3 separate regions of the Homo sapiens genome follow, and regions 2 and 3 are each linked to region 1. Evidence: promoter capture Hi-C in human tissues and cell types (Jung and others, 2019). All regions are on one chromosome and are shown on one strand. Each heading gives the region's core, a stretch centred on a gene start or on the middle of the fragment in contact. The rest is flanking DNA. Distances are from core to core; before and after follow the strand shown. Region 1 holds the start of ARG1 (arginase 1). Region 2 overlaps MED23 (mediator complex subunit 23). Region 3 overlaps MED23 (mediator complex subunit 23).

Region 1 (5,161 bases), core at 1,361-3,860:
TCAGCATGAGTTCACCAAGAACTGGACCTGTCAAGGTCAGCCCATCAACTTTGACAGGGAAGTCAGATTGGCAGAAGAAAAGGTAGTAAAGTGTGATGAGATTTTATTGAGACACCGGATAAATTTCCTTACGATGTCCTTGTGAACAGGATGGAGTGGTTGAGTTGGAAATTAGTAATCAGTTGTATCTCAACTGATGATTAATTAATGGGGCTATGCCAATCTGGGTTAAGGTTTCCAGTGGAATGTCACAGAGTGTTTGTAAAAGTGCTGCCTTATTCAACATTTTTATCAGTGACTTGGAAAAGTCAAATGTTATCAAATTTGTGTCTGATGGACCAGATAACTCCACCTGTATTTGGATATGTGCATTTTGTTCTGGATGCCCTATTTAGGAAAGGCAGAGGGAAGCGAGATGTTTTGAAGACAGCGACCAAGTTGGTGACCTGAAGGAAAGTGGCAACTATGTAACACAAGAAATTAGTGAGGTATTTGGGAATATTCAGCCTAAACAATAGAAATCCAAGAAAGACATGACAGCCAAGAGATAATGTGCTTTACTTGGATTAAAGGGTGGTGACCAATGGTTCATATGACAGGAAGGCAATCTCAGCTTGGCATACAAAGAACTTTCAGGATGTGAATTTTTCAAAGAAAAAATTCTAGCAATCAAATTTGAAAGTTAGCAAATCTCCATGGATTGATTTATAAATCTAGTAAAAATTCTAGCAAATACTTTTAAGGAATTAGGTTATTCCAACTATAGGAGAATAGAGACCCATAAAAGGTAAATCAATTTTGAAAAAGAAGAGCAAAACAGTTACTCTTGCCTAAACAATGATAAGATGTACCGCAAAACTGTATTGATAAAACCTGATGGATCTGGTGCAGCCATAGGTAAATAAGTCAATGGAACAGAAGAAAGAGTTTAGTGACAGACAGCACTCCAATCAATTGCAAAATGAATGACTATTCAATGGGTGTTGTTGAGGAAACTGATGCATGAATGATAGAGGAAAAACGAGTTGGAAAATTTACATAACATACAAAGATGGATTCAGGAACTAAGTGAGAAAGATAAGCTCTAAGGCAAATGGAAGAAAATGTAAAACTACATACCTACAATTTGATGGGGTGGCAGGAATTTAATAAGACTTCCAAAGCACAAAGCATTCGGGGGAAATTATACAAGTGTCTATTTTAAAATTGAGGATTTTGAGTGATAACATATAAAAAGTTATCAGATTTCTGACAGGTTGGGAAAAGTTATTTGCAATGTCAATGCTATAAGGTTAATATCTAGGCAATATGAGGAATACCACAAGTAAATATTTAGGATATACAAGCAAACCCACAAGAAAAAGGTAGGAAACCTATTTGGAAAACAGTCCTATCAAAATGGACCCATGAGACTTTGGTTTCCTCATTTATCCATTCAATAAATATTTATTGAGTGCCTATTATACACCAACACTCTTCTAGGCCCTGGGGATACAGCAGACAAAATTCTCTGACCTCATGGAATTTAAATTCCAAAATGTTCTTTCCCACCAATAGGAAAAAGAAATTAGTTTCTACTAAGTGAATTTTCCCTTTAAATTACAATTACATAATTTTAAAGTCGGAAGGATCTTTAAGGTGCCTTTATTTTAAATTCATACTTTTGTATGGTGACAAATGGTAGCTCAGGGGCATAGAGGTTGACACCTTCCCAGCATTTAGACTATAAGCTCGACGGTTAAGTGGATTCAGAATGGCAGAGACTAAATCCCGACTTTTCTTCTACAGCCTATGTTGGCAACGGGTCTGAGCTTCAGTTTATTCATCAGTATAATGGCACCAATGATGAGACTTCACATAAAATTGGTATAAATATAAATATGGTATTTTGAAACAGAACTGCATCGGACACATGGTAAAAACTCAATGTTAGCTATTTTTATTTCTATACTTTGATTATGATATGATTCTACAATTATTTTCCTGTACACCATACTTCAAAAATGGTAACCTCTCTGGGTTACCAATCAAGTAACTAATTTTTTAAAGTAATCATCAAAAAAGGAAGTTATATACTCTTTATTATATTATACCCTAAAAGTTTATGAAATGTGTCTCATGGATTAACCATTTACCCTCATGTGTGAAATCTCAACTCAGGATTTTAGGGCTGGAAGGGATGTGACAGACGATCTTGCCAAGCCCGGCCCTTCTTCTACAAGGACGTCTTCAGAGATCTGGAGGAGGAAAGGGCCTTGCCCTGAGTTCGCTGAGCCAGAACAATAGGACTTCTTCTGTAGTTGTGAAACTTGTCAGTTGTTGAAGTCAGGTTAATGTCATCTGGCTGGCTTTTTAAAAGGGTGTGAAGTGAGAACATGAATAATTGTCACTTGATTAGAGACCTAGACTCAGAGTTAGGTTACTCCATGTATGAAGTAACCCCATATAGTTACTTCATACATGGAGTAACCATATAGTTACTCCATGTATGAAAAATTGCAAGACTGTTGACTGTCATTCTTTGGTTTAGTGGGTGGAGCCAGCTGTCCTCATTAGATAAAGGTTGTTTATTCAACCCAAGTATAAATGGAAAAAAAAGATGCGCCCTCTGTCACTGAGGGTTGACTGACTGGAGAGCTCAAGTGCAGCAAAGAGAAGTGTCAGAGCATGAGCGCCAAGTCCAGAACCATAGGGATTATTGGAGCTCCTTTCTCAAAGGGACAGGTAAGGAAAAAAGTCTTTCTTTGAATTCCTGGAATTTAGTTGAAAATTTTGGACTTCAAAATTTGTAAGGTGTTATTGTCTAGTTAGTTCAGTTTTCTGATACAATCTGGCCAGGAAATGCATATTTTAAAGTCCTCTCACCATTTTCCAACATTGTATAATTATAGTCACATATCCACTTACTTTTGTGGCTCGTGATCTCAGCCAAGGCTAAATTCATTTGAACCTACAGAATGTTTTCTCATATTTTTTAGGAGAAAATATTTTTCTTTGAATTGAAATGGACTCTTTCTGCATTGTAGCTACTCATTGAGGTTTAGTTGCTCTTGTTGTTTTTGATGTTACTGTGTGTATGTAGAGGAAGAGAGAATTTTAAGAAATACATTTGTTTAGTTATGTAATTAATGCCTAGAAAAATTTAATAGTTTGGTGGTAACCTTCAGGCTTCTTATAATTTGGATAACCTAAATATTATTGTTTCATGCAACTTTGTGAATAATTCATGTTATGTTAGGGTTTTAATGTTTCTATGAAACTGTTCATTCATGGACTAGGTAGAATCCTTTATGTGCCTCACTTGGAAGGGGAAAAAAAGAACAAAAAAAGAAAGAAAATCCTACTGCGGGTTGGCAACTCTAAAAGGATTTTAATGGATTTATGAAACCCCCAGATTTCCTTACAGCCACGAGCTGTGAATCCACACATGCCAGCAACATTGAATACACTTTTTTTTCTGCCTGGGCACACTTATTCTAGTAAAGAGAGTGTGATGACAGAACACCTTAGACTTCAACACGCATCTGTGCTTAAAGAGGATAAAAAACAAAGAACAAAATCAAACAAGACAATGTATGAGTTGAAACTACTAAGGTTGATTTTCTCCAGGTTTCTCAGGATCTGGGCAGCGTTTTGCTTCCTCTTAATTTGGAACCCTTGCTGTGTACTCTGACTTTTTACTGCAAAACAAATTGAGAGAGGCCAGAGGTTAGAGGCCCAAACTGCATTTGGACTGTCAGTAAATACTACTTTGCTTCCCCTGGAAATCCTCCAAAAGTCTCTCCCAAACACAGGGACATTTTGCTGACACAGAAATGTTCCTTTTAAAATCCACACTGTTCTCACCCACTCTTGAACAGGTTATAATAAATATATAATTTAAAAACCTCACAAAAGGGAAGCAAGTGTCCTCCTTCTACCACCCTCCTCCCATTAAAACATGGTCATGAGAATGGAGTTCATTGTCTCATGATTGTAAGGACTAAGAGAGAGAGATTTTTTACACTAAGTCATAGAGTAGAGAGGATAAAATGGCCAACATATAAGTATTTGTCCTCACCTAAAGGAGGTACAAGTTTGACAAATAAGCAAAAGGAAAGGATTAGAGGGCAGATGACTAAAATGTTGAGTCTGAGAAAGGGCTTCATCCCTGTCTCACCTCCTTGAAAGGCTTGCAAGGCAGCGAACAAACAATAAGGTAGGTATTATTTTTACCTTACAGTTGGGTTAAAAAAAAGCCCAGAGAGGTTTGGTAATGTGCTCAACGTCACACAGCCTTGACTGCATAATTCCAGACAAGATAATCTGATTCCAATGCCTATGCCCTTGATTTGCACTGATGTCTCTTCAGACTATTCAACTCCAAAGGCGACCTTATACTTGTGGCCATTTAGGGATTGGGCCCAGCTTAGAAAGTCGGTGGAGCTGACAAAGCAATTTCCAAAGTGGGCAGATAGAGCAAGCAAGAGGAAAGCCCAATCATGAGAAGCCATTTGAATAAAACAAATAAAAAAGAATTCTAGAAAATTTAATGGCTGTGTTATAGCAAATATAGTGTCAACTAAGGGGTCTATGAGCTTTGTTCTAAAATATGAAAGGGAGAAGGGTAAAAAAGCCAAGGAGTTTTATCAAACTGAGTATTGAGTATCTACTATATGTCAGCTCTACACTACAAAATATAGTGCCCCACATGTAAAGCAAGCTGGACTGAAATCTAACAATGAGGAAAAGACAAAAACAGACACAAAACTAAAGGCAAAACATGAACCAAGCAGCACCCTATTGGGGTTGAAAGAAGGAGAAATCATGTTTACTTGATTGGGGAGAGGCAGGTGTGTCAAGCAAAAAGGGAGTAAAGAAGCAAAATGTGTCAGGCAGAGGATAGGGCGGGTCCCTTGCTGCCAGGGACAGGAATTTAACATCAAGGATTTGCCTGGCACCCAGGGCAAGTCTTCTGTTCCTTTGAATGGGGAAAAAATACTTGCTTACTTTGATGCCACAGCCCCAATCCTAAAGATAGACACACGTGTCTTTTAACACATTGTCTCATCTGACAACATGTAATAATCTTCTGCATCTAAAAGCTCTGTTGGAAATTAAAATCAGAAAGATACAGAAAGGAACTGTGCCTTTAGACCTCTAATTGTTCAGGGGACTGAGG
Region 2 (5,161 bases), core at 1,144-3,643, 50 kb after region 1:
TCAAAATTGCTAAGAGAGTAGATTTTAAGTGTTATCATTATAAAAAAATAAGTATATATAATATATATACACACACACAGACAATTGCTACTTGTCAATTAAAATAAAATATAGAGATATTATTTAATGGATTTATTGGGTTTCAACTGTAGCAAAGAATACATTTATATGTAAAAAATATCTAAAAATAAAGATTAATAAACAATGGAATGGATTGTTCATGGTTAGTAAATAACCTTGCACATGCTTTAAATATTGGCACACTTAAACAGGAGTGCAACAGACCAACGTAACAATTCTTGCGATACTAGTTACAAAGTACAAAGATCTTTTAAGTGGTCCATATGCTAAGGTCTTGTAATGTTTAAGCTATTTTAATTTCTATTTCATTGTTTTCATAATTTAAAACCATGAATTAAAATTTAAAATGTCCTTTTGAAATATAAGGGAACTAGCATCTTTTAAAATAGAAGTGATTTTTTTTTGGTAGAAGAAATAGAGCATCTCACAAAATACCGTAAGTATTAAAAGCACAGACCTAAACAAAGCTAGACTTTTTTGAGGTTATGATCACGAATTTCAGACATGTCTAAATTACCTCTCTTGCTGCCAGAAGCTGCTGTACAACAGCAGAGCTCACTGTATTAGGAATTGTCAAAATCTTCTCCAAAATCACTTTTAAGAGATCTCGAACACCCTGATATAAGAAAAAAGACATGGGTTAAAATTAAGTAGTGTCTACTGTGTTAGCTAAAACGTCCGAAGGTTTCAGGGTGATATATTCCTTCAAGGTCACACCTTTAAATTTTCTGAATCAGTTACAATCTAAGTCCCTAACATTAACCCAACAGAAGAGTCATGTTCCAAAACAGAGTTCTAAAGACTGTCTTAAAATACAATGAGCAAAGAAAGTCATTATACAGTTTGTCAAGCTTTTTTGGCCCTCATAACATTAGAAGGGTTTACGTTGTTACAAGGGTCAAAAACCTTAATTATACATATAGACAGAAATATATTGTAACAAGACTTCAATGCACTCTGAAAACTTGAGTAACAATATCAAACTTTTTGGTAGAGGACTGTTTCTGCTCACTCCCTTTTGTGCTGGGATTATAGGTGTAAGCCACTGTGACTGGCCTATTCTCCCTTCTCATCCATCACATACCTTAATCTCTCAAGGATATCCAAGGCTATTCTGTTAATCATTTCCACATATCCAATACCAGTTACATTATCTGATATATAAAGAAGAAATTTCATTCAACATTTATTTATTGACTATGAACTACGTAACCAAGCTTGTAAAAGACAGAACATATACCTAAAAGAACAATTATGAAGTATCATACAAATAAGAAAATTGCATAAGTCTGAGTAAAGAGAAAATAATTAGCAAAAGCTTCTTAGAGTTAACTGTGTGATAAATCATGATTTAAACTAATAATTATCTGTTAGGTCATTACCTGTTAAATCATTTCAGATTAGAGAAAATGCAGAAATAAAGCACAGGGTCAGACACTGGTAATTCCCGGGAAAAGGACAATAACAAAAGTCTCCTGAAGATGCAGAATGGCTTTTGTAGCTATGGAGTCCCTAAGCCGTTTTATGAGACAAAACTAGAAAGTGTATGTTGTTTTTGGTCAAGAGCCCAAAGTGCTGAAGATATTAATTGAGGTAAGACCCACGTTCAAGAGAAGTGAAGCCAGGTCTTGCTCCCTTCATCAGTGATGCCTACATCCCTTCTCAGTTCCACACACCCCTGCTCTGTGCTTTCATTTGAAGGGATCATAATACTTGCAGCATGAAGGAACACGGATTCTGCTTTGTGACTTCCCTGCTCTTCATAAAAATGTATCAGCTACCTGTATTTATAAGAATGTTGGGAGGGGAGTAGCGGAGCCAGGGAAACAACTGAGTAACTTTAAATCTTTTCAGGAAATATACCACAAGAAATAGACAGATTTTGTAAATGCTTCCACATCATTTCTCTCACCTGAAAATAAGACATGCACACCGAAAAATCAATCATATCTGAAAGCAATCACTTTTTATAATAAGAAAAATATACCTTGTAATCCACTCCCCCAATTATTTTCCGAACCAGTTTAAATGTTAAGGCCCAAAGCTGTGTTCTTTCCCACTCAAGAGTGTCAGAGTTTATCAGGGATTCACAAACCAGCCTATAAAAAAAGAAATAGCCATTCCAGTTACAAGACAGAATTTTCCAAGTTCTCTAATAGCCGCCAATATGGTTTGGCTGTGTACTCACACAAATCTCATCTTGAATTGTAGTTCCCATAATCCCCACGTGTCATGAGAAAAACCATTTAAATCATGAGGGACAGTTCCCCCAATACTGTTCTCATGATAGTGAGTTAGTTCTCACAAGATCTAATGGTTTTATATGGGGATTCCCCCTTCACTGGGCACTCATTCTCTCTCCCACCACCCTGTGATGAGGTGCCTTTTGCCATTATTCTAAGTTTCCTGAGGCCTCCCTAGCCATGCCAAACTGTGAGTCAATTAAACCTCTTTCCTTTATAAGTTACCCAGTCTCGGGTATATCTTTGTTAGCAGCATCAGACAGACTAATACAGCCATAGTCTGTGCACTGTATTATATTTATCCTCACAAGTGTCTTTCATAAAAGTGATTACTAAGCACACTTATAAATCTGTGTAGTATTTTACATTTTTTACTTGTATGAAAGATCAAAAACAAAGTAAGAATGAAATAATATTCATTATGTTATATTTTACTAGAAAGAAGTCTATCTAAAGCTTTCGGTTAGATGTTTACCATCTATCACCTTGTGGTACACTGGATTTTTCCAACAGGATGGCAACAAGATTTTTGATCCCACATCTTCTTCTGAAATGTGACACTGACATTTCTCCCAAGGAGAGGTAGGGGGAAAGTCTACGTTCTCACTCCTTAGATCTGGGCAGACCTAAGACTATGGCCAAAAGGATGCAGTATGACTTCCAAGAAGACAAGGTGATACAATTTCTGCCTAGCCCTCTTTTGCACACTTGCTGTTAGGCTCCACCATGAGGTGAGAAAGTCTAGGCCACAAGGTGAGGGCCTGCGGAGGTTCTGGCTAATAATCCCAGCTGAGGTTCCAGATGACAGCCAGGAATCAACCACCAGATATCTGAGTGGGGAAGCTTTTGCCATGCTCCAGCCCTAGCCACATTGATCACAATCATTATGACCTTGAGTAAAAAGTGTCTCCTAAGCCGAGTCAACCACTAAAACCATGAATAATTTTAAAACCTGAGTATTACTGTTTTAAGCCATAAGGTGTTGAGGTTGTGCAGCAAAAGTAAAGGGTTACAAACTAATTAAAGTGATTAATTTCAGCCCCTGGGCAGAAACATCTGGTTTTGAGCCCACAAGCATTACCTAATTCAAAGACTATTACTCCTAGAAACTAAAACCTGAGGTATTATATAAAGGATTACTTGATAAACCTCACCTTCTTCTTCATTCTCTTACCTTTTTACAACAACAACCTCAACCAATTTCCAATCACATATAGAAAAGAAAATTCTTCAGATTGCTCATACCCATTAAACGTACCTGGGTGGAAGGAGACCAGTCTCAACTGCCATTGCTAAGCAGTCATAAAGAAAAGAAATTCTTTTAGGACTATGCTGACCATGAATAAACTTAACAATCCACTGGATACACTGTTCATGAGACTCCTGGAAAATGAGAGAATGATTTTACTTGGGGTCTAAAGTTACATTTTTATAACCAATAGCTAATACTACAACTGGAAGTATACCAATACTATGAAAGAAATACTTCACTATGAGCATCTGTGGATGAAAATAATTTTTAAAAAAAGCAAAATTAAAAAATTCAGATTTAGTATTTGTCACATTAAGCTTAACATTTTGTAATTACATAGATAAAATGCTACCATTTTTATTACATGGGAACTTCAAAAGTAGTAATTAATTAGTTAACATATTAACGGTCAATAGAAAACTCTTAACACAGATTGTTGTAAGGCATTGTAAACAGTGCCCTTTATGGCATATATAAATATTACTGTCACTGGGGGTAAAATTCATTATGGATCAGTATGTATCAGGCTTAGGAGAATTAGGTGTGAATCCAATCCCTAAGATCCCAAACAAGAGCCCATTATGAATCCAATGACATGTCACATTTCTAGACTGGCAAAACTTTAAATACGATGTCAAAATGTTGTGCCCGTATCAAAGTTTGTCTTCTAGGATTATCTCCAAAAAGAGCCTATAATGTTCTGCTTCTCTCCACAACCACTGTTCTCATACATACTTCTATTGTGGCACATATAACAATGATTTGGAAATACCTATTTTCTTCCTGGTCTCTCCATTAGAGGGCCACATCATAATTCATAAAGTGTTTAATGAATTTTTTTTTAAATTTTGGAAAGATATTCAACATCACTGAGAGAAATGCAAAATAAAATTATACTGAGATAAAATTTCTCATGTTTTTGATTGGCAAAGATCAAAAAGCTTAACACTCTATTGTGAGGTTATAAGAAAAAGATACTCTCAGCCGGGCGCGGTGGCTCATGCCTGTAATCCCAGCACTTTGGGAGGCCGAGGTGGGCAGATCATGAGGTCGGGAGATCGAGACCAACCTGGCTAACACGATGAAACCCCGTCTCTACTAAAAATACAAAAAATGAGCCGGGCGTGATAGCAGGTGCCTGTAGTCCCAGCTACTCGGGAGGCTGAGGCAGGAGAACGGCGTGAACCCGAGAGGCAGAGGTTGCAGTGAGCCAAGATCACGCCACTGCACTCTAGCCTGGGCGACAGAGTGAGACTCTGTCTCCAAAAAAAAAAAAAAAAAAGAAAAGAAAAAGATAATCTCAAACACTGCTGGTGGAAGCATAAACTAGTATAACCCTTATGGAAAATTTAATAATTTCTATAAAAATTACAAACTGATAAGGCTTTTGACTCAGCAATACTATTTCTAGGAATTTATCCTATTTTTCATGCATAATATTATTCATCACAGCATTGGTTAAATTAGAAAAAGTAAGAAGAAACTTAGAAGACAGTAGAAGATTGGTTAAAAGGAGGAAGGTACAGCCATACAATGGAATATTATGCTGCTATTTAAAAAAAAAAGTAAGAAAGGAAGGAACAAG
Region 3 (5,161 bases), core at 2,662-5,161, 34 kb after region 1:
TACTTTAGAAGCAGAGAAGTTTTATGACAGATGAATAATAATAAAAAAAAAAACTATAAGGTAAAGGTAAAGGATTAAGAACCTCATCTCCAAGAAAGTTTCTAATAAATCTTAAGGAAAGATGGTCTTCAATGAGCTCACCAAAGATGGAGCTGGTTCTGGTTTGTTTGTGCAACTGCAGCCAAAGTATGAAGATGACTCAGGAGCTGAACTCTGTAATGAGGCTGAATATGATGCATCCGGTAGCTAAACATCTCAAGGAGTGTGTGTAAGATCCCCCATGCATGTGATTTGAAAACAGTTGGCAAAAGCTGACCTGGAGGAAAAAGACAATTTAAGGTACCAATTATTAAAGGCTATGCATGAAAAGATATTTGAAGAAAGTCACATTGAGTAAAATATAAAGATTTGATTGTGAAAATACACACGCCCACACACATATATATTCTCCATATTTTCTTATTTTCTACTTTAACAGTAAGGAAAAATTCAGATCCTAACTATAATATCAAGTTTGCTTTTTTCCTGGGATTTGGCAATTGATAATCATGTTTATCTGGAAAAATAAAATGAGACAAGATATGAAAAAACATTAATCTTCTCAATTCTGATATCTTTTATTTTTAGACAATTAATGTTCCATACCTTTTGAAGTATGAGGTTCACTTTTTAATACAAAAAATTGTATTATACCTGCCCTTGTTTCCTCCTACCCCCAAGAAAGTTTTGTTCAACAATCAGTTATCTAAGAAGAGTTATTGTGGTTAAAATTAAGACTATGCTGTATTCGTGAAAAGCTGGAATTACCATGAATCAGAAAAACACTTCTATATCAGAAAGTATCTATTATTTTAGAACTATATAATAAATGAGACATTATAATGTATCTTCTGCAAGGTAGGAAAATTCCTTCTTTATTTCCAGTCAGACTTCGTATGCACTGGAGGACAGCATTGCTGCCTCAGGCAGAATCCATTTGCATGAGGACAGGGACCAGGTCTATCCTGCTCACTGCATCCCAGGCACCTAGCACATTAACCTTTTCTTACCACTTTACTTAAAAATGCAACAAACCCCCCAACCCTCACACTTCCTATTCCTTTTTGCTTTATTTTTCTCTATAACATGTATCATCTGACATATTGTATATTTCATTTATTTAATGTCCTCCTCCATAAGCTCCATCATGGTGGTGACTTGTTCTCTGCTGTGTCCCCAGGACCTAGAAAAGTAACTTTAGAGTTAATGAATGGGTTAATAGTTATAAACACCAGAAAGTCCTGTCTTACTGATAAATCCTTTGATGCCCAAAGACTCTATTTCCATATAGACCAATAAACGACTGTAAGTTTCCACTAGGGCTGGAGCCAAGGCCACACTGGACTTTGCATGAGCAAGTTTTATCACCCTGGTTGCAATGCTGTGAATAAGGCTGAGGAGAAAAAAAGGGAAGAAAATAAAAATCCATATTTTTGACATAAACATAGGGGCTACTCTACTTAGAAGTAACTTAGTATAAATCTGAACTTAAATGATTCAAATGAAGTTGATTCATTTAATGTGTTTAAGCTGTGCAGGACACTTGGTAAGGATGCACTGCACAATCTGAGACTCATTCCGTTTCTGTGGCGCTTTCAATATGCATACGGATCCCCCTGCTCATGGAAAAACAAACTTTGGATTCAACTCATAAGAGCATGCTTGAGGGATTTTGGTCACTCAAATGATGCATCAAAATACATTTGGGAAATTAAATAACTTTTGTCACAGATTTACTTTAATAAATCACTGCTAAGACCCAAATGTTACGTTCTAATGGGGCTTTGCTCAAATCTGTTATATATGCAAGTGAAGCACATGTGTAATTCTATCACAATGGTTACCATTTGAAAAAGAGCATAGCTCTACCAGGACTGATGCTCCACTTGGAGGCCCACAGACAAATTCTCTTTGGCCTATACAGTGGTTGTTTCAAATTTGAGCCAATACTTAAAAGCTGAAAGACTACTAATAAAAAATCTGGATTTCTAGCCCTTTCCAAAAATGTTGGAAGCTCTAGCTACACTAGTCCTCATTCTTAACTATCTATAAAAAATGAAAAAAAATGTGCAAAAAATTTTTATAATGCTTATCTCTCATGTAGAGATTACAACAATTACTTTCTTTGGGTTTGTTTATCCTAGAATTCCTATAATAAAAAATATTTACTTTTGTAATAAAATAAAGCTAACTTTTTTTTCTCAAATGTACCTGACTATGAAATAATACGCACATAAAATCATGAAATAAAGGTTTATACTATACTCGTATCAATTCCCTGACATGGAACCAAATTAATAAAAAGAACATACCTCATTTTGGCATGAACTGTCAGTGAATCCAGGAGGTTCATAGGTAAGGGGGTAATAGATCCTGAAGCCATACAGTTTGTTCCAGGGAGAGGTATCCTCATAATTCCATTTCCATAAATAGTTTCTACCAGAGCTCCCATGGGTAATGTAAAACATTCTGAATTTGTAGAGTATGCATTACACAATAGAGCAATCTTATAGTCATTCATCTGTAAACTTTTATTTCTTAGACTCTGCTGCAGGAACCTAAATATTCACGTTCCATTAAAAAGAAAAAATGAAAATAACTTCCATAATGTTAATTTGTATTTTTTTAAAAGTTCAATTTTATGCAATTATTTATTAATGCTATCTTTGTTCCTATAGGTATTATAGTTTCTGTGTGAAATGTACAGTGGGAATACACATAGAAGTTTGAGTAGCATTTCAGAAGAAAAATAATTTTAAATAAACAATTAATGGGTACTGTTAAGTATGCACTACATATATGACCACCATATTAGGCTAAGTTTCAGAGAATGAAGAAATAACTCACAAGTCTATGAACCAGGTTTCTATTTATTATCTGTCTGTATAAACACAACAATGTCTTCATTACAGATACCACTATGAAAAGGTGGTTAAGGGCTGTCTCATAAAATGAAAACCAAATGAAGTATCAAGTCTGACAATCCTGCCATCTCCTGTGAAGAGAAGTGGCAGTCCTTCTCAGAAGTTCTAGGTGGGAAGTTAGGCTACTCCTAGCACCCTTGACTACAATACAATACTATCTAAGAATGGTATCTTCATTGAGTCATCACAACTTTGGAAGAGATATTAAGGGGCATGCCAGCCAGATCAGCTCAATCAATCCTGGCAGCCCAGAGATGAATGATATCTCAGTCAGCTTATGCTGAAGTTCCAAGCACTTGGGAAATTCTGAAACATTTTTACATTTATAAAAATTGATATGCTTTCATTATATTAATAACTTTAAAGTATAACATATACAACTGAAGATCAGCCTTAAAAATTAAAAAAAAAAATCTATACATATAAGCAAGACTAACCTTGTAGCTGTTTCCTGATATAGGTACTGGTCAGATTCTCCTGCTATGACATATACATCAAGTATTTGCCCTTACCTATAGTGGGTATGCGGAGATTTCCAAATTTCACACAAACACCGAGACCAATATTAGTCTACAATCCGCTATTAATTAAACAAGAAAATTAAGTATCAAGCAACAAATAACTTACTCATGGTGAAGTCTTAGGGAATGAGGTATTGGAATCTGTAGCTTGGAGTTGTCATTTTGAGCTTTTCTATTGAGATGAATCCAAATACAGGTCATTGCAAAGGCATGGGTTGACTGGGGTTTGTTAATATCAGGAACTGGGATATACTGAAAAATAACAATTTGAAAAATAACACAATAGAAGAAAGAGAAGAATTAAATAATTATGTGTATTTTAGTAATCAATTTCTAATATAACTCTTTTTAGCATATCATGTCTTACTTTAGCCCCGATAATTCAATAATACAAATCAGAAGGTCTAACAGCCATAAAATTTTGAAATTATTACAAGATGCTTTATTTGGTATATGTTTTTACTTGCTTTAAGTAACACATATTCACAGGTGCTTGGTCAAGCTTTTCCTACTATCGCAGAGCATTCTCAAATAAAAATAAATTTTTAATTTTTACTTTTAAAAAATTAAAACACATCATCATGAAATCTTACTAAAGTGACAAATGTAACTAAAAACAAGACTTTCTAAAAGTCTCATAATAATTTTTAAGAACAGATAAAAATCTAAGAAATACGCAACCTAAATAATTACATTTAAACATATTGACTATTAATGGGTAAAATGATATGGATGTCTGGGATTTGCTTGAAAATTGTCCAACATTAACAAAAAAAATAAGGAGGAAAGATGAAACAAGAGTATTTCTTGATGATGGGTATAACATGGTGGGGTTACAGCTAGTGCATGGTGGGGTTACAGCTAGTGCATGGTGGGGTTACAGTAACCCCATCATGTTATACCCATCATCAAGAAATACTCTTGTTTCATCTTAAAATTTTCTGGGCAGATCACCTAAGGTCAGGAGTTCAAGACCAGCCTGGCCAACACGGCGAAACCCTGTCTCTACCAAAAATACAAAAATTAGTCGGGCATGTTGGCATGTGCATGTAATCTCAGCTACTCGGGAGGCTGAGGCAGGAGAATTGCTTCAACCCAGGAGGTGGAGGTTGCAGTGAGCTGAGATCACGCCACTGCACTCCAGCCTGGGTGACAACAGTGAAACTCCTTAACAACAACAACAACAACAACAACAATTCATGATAAAGTACTTCTAGAAAATGGCAATCATCAAAATACATCACATTTTACTCAAATATCTTATATGATAAAATACCCAGGGGACATACTGAGGCTCAACTGTCAAAGAAAAAATAGCTATTAATAAAGACTGTTATCTGGCCATTCAATGATGTATATAGATTAAAACAGCTTTAGTGATTTGTAAAACTGTAGACCTACCTAGAATGTAGAGAAAGAGCTTGCTACACTTAACATTCAATTGTGATTTAGCATAAACTTTAGAAATACACAAAATCACACTAAAATCCTTAAACATAAATTAGACATAATTTACTCATCATGTTGTTATGAATAGTTACTCAGTAAAGCTTACTTCTTTTTCTGGGTATAGCAAGTCGAAGAGCTTCATCACAGGGAGAAAATCAGCTAGTGCATTTTTCTGAATACTTCCAGAAATGAATTGCAGGAGAACCCACATAAGATGATCTCTGCCTT

Evidence for each region. The method cuts DNA at HindIII sites, captures the fragments that hold promoters and counts their contacts. A contact is called where the count stands out against the background at its distance.
Region 2: a contact is called between a fragment that was not itself captured here and the fragment with the promoter of ARG1 in region 1, in 4 of the 25 tissues and cell types used here (H1 embryonic stem cells, dorsolateral prefrontal cortex, hippocampus and 1 more).
Region 3: a contact is called between a fragment that was not itself captured here and the fragment with the promoter of ARG1 in region 1, in 1 of the 25 tissues and cell types used here (hippocampus).

The regions. Positions count from the first base shown.
Region 1 is chr6:131,570,616-131,575,776 of GRCh38, forward strand. It overlaps ARG1 (arginase 1), which reads left to right and starts at 2,611. Exons shown (of 8, transcript NM_000045.4): 1 at 2,611-2,724. The coding sequence starts at 2,668. It also overlaps a transcript of MED23 not described here. RefSeq lists an enhancer at 2,077-2,578. The HindIII fragment of the contact is 11,485 bases long and covers 1-5,161 here.
Region 2 is chr6:131,621,283-131,626,443 of GRCh38, forward strand. MED23 (mediator complex subunit 23) reads right to left here. Exons shown (of 29, transcript NM_004830.4): 4 at 3,583-3,707; 5 at 2,069-2,180; 6 at 599-697. Among named protein-coding and RNA genes, the nearest start is that of MED23, 4.4 kb to the right of the region's middle. The HindIII fragment of the contact is 5,524 bases long and covers 1-5,155 here.
Region 3 is chr6:131,602,889-131,608,049 of GRCh38, forward strand. It overlaps MED23 (mediator complex subunit 23), which reads right to left. Exons shown (of 29, transcript NM_004830.4): 12 at 5,040-5,161; 13 at 3,591-3,736; 14 at 2,352-2,597; 15 at 1,290-1,432; 16 at 142-316. Among named protein-coding and RNA genes, the nearest start is that of MED23, 23 kb to the right of the region's middle. The HindIII fragment of the contact is 4,751 bases long and covers 1,537-5,161 here.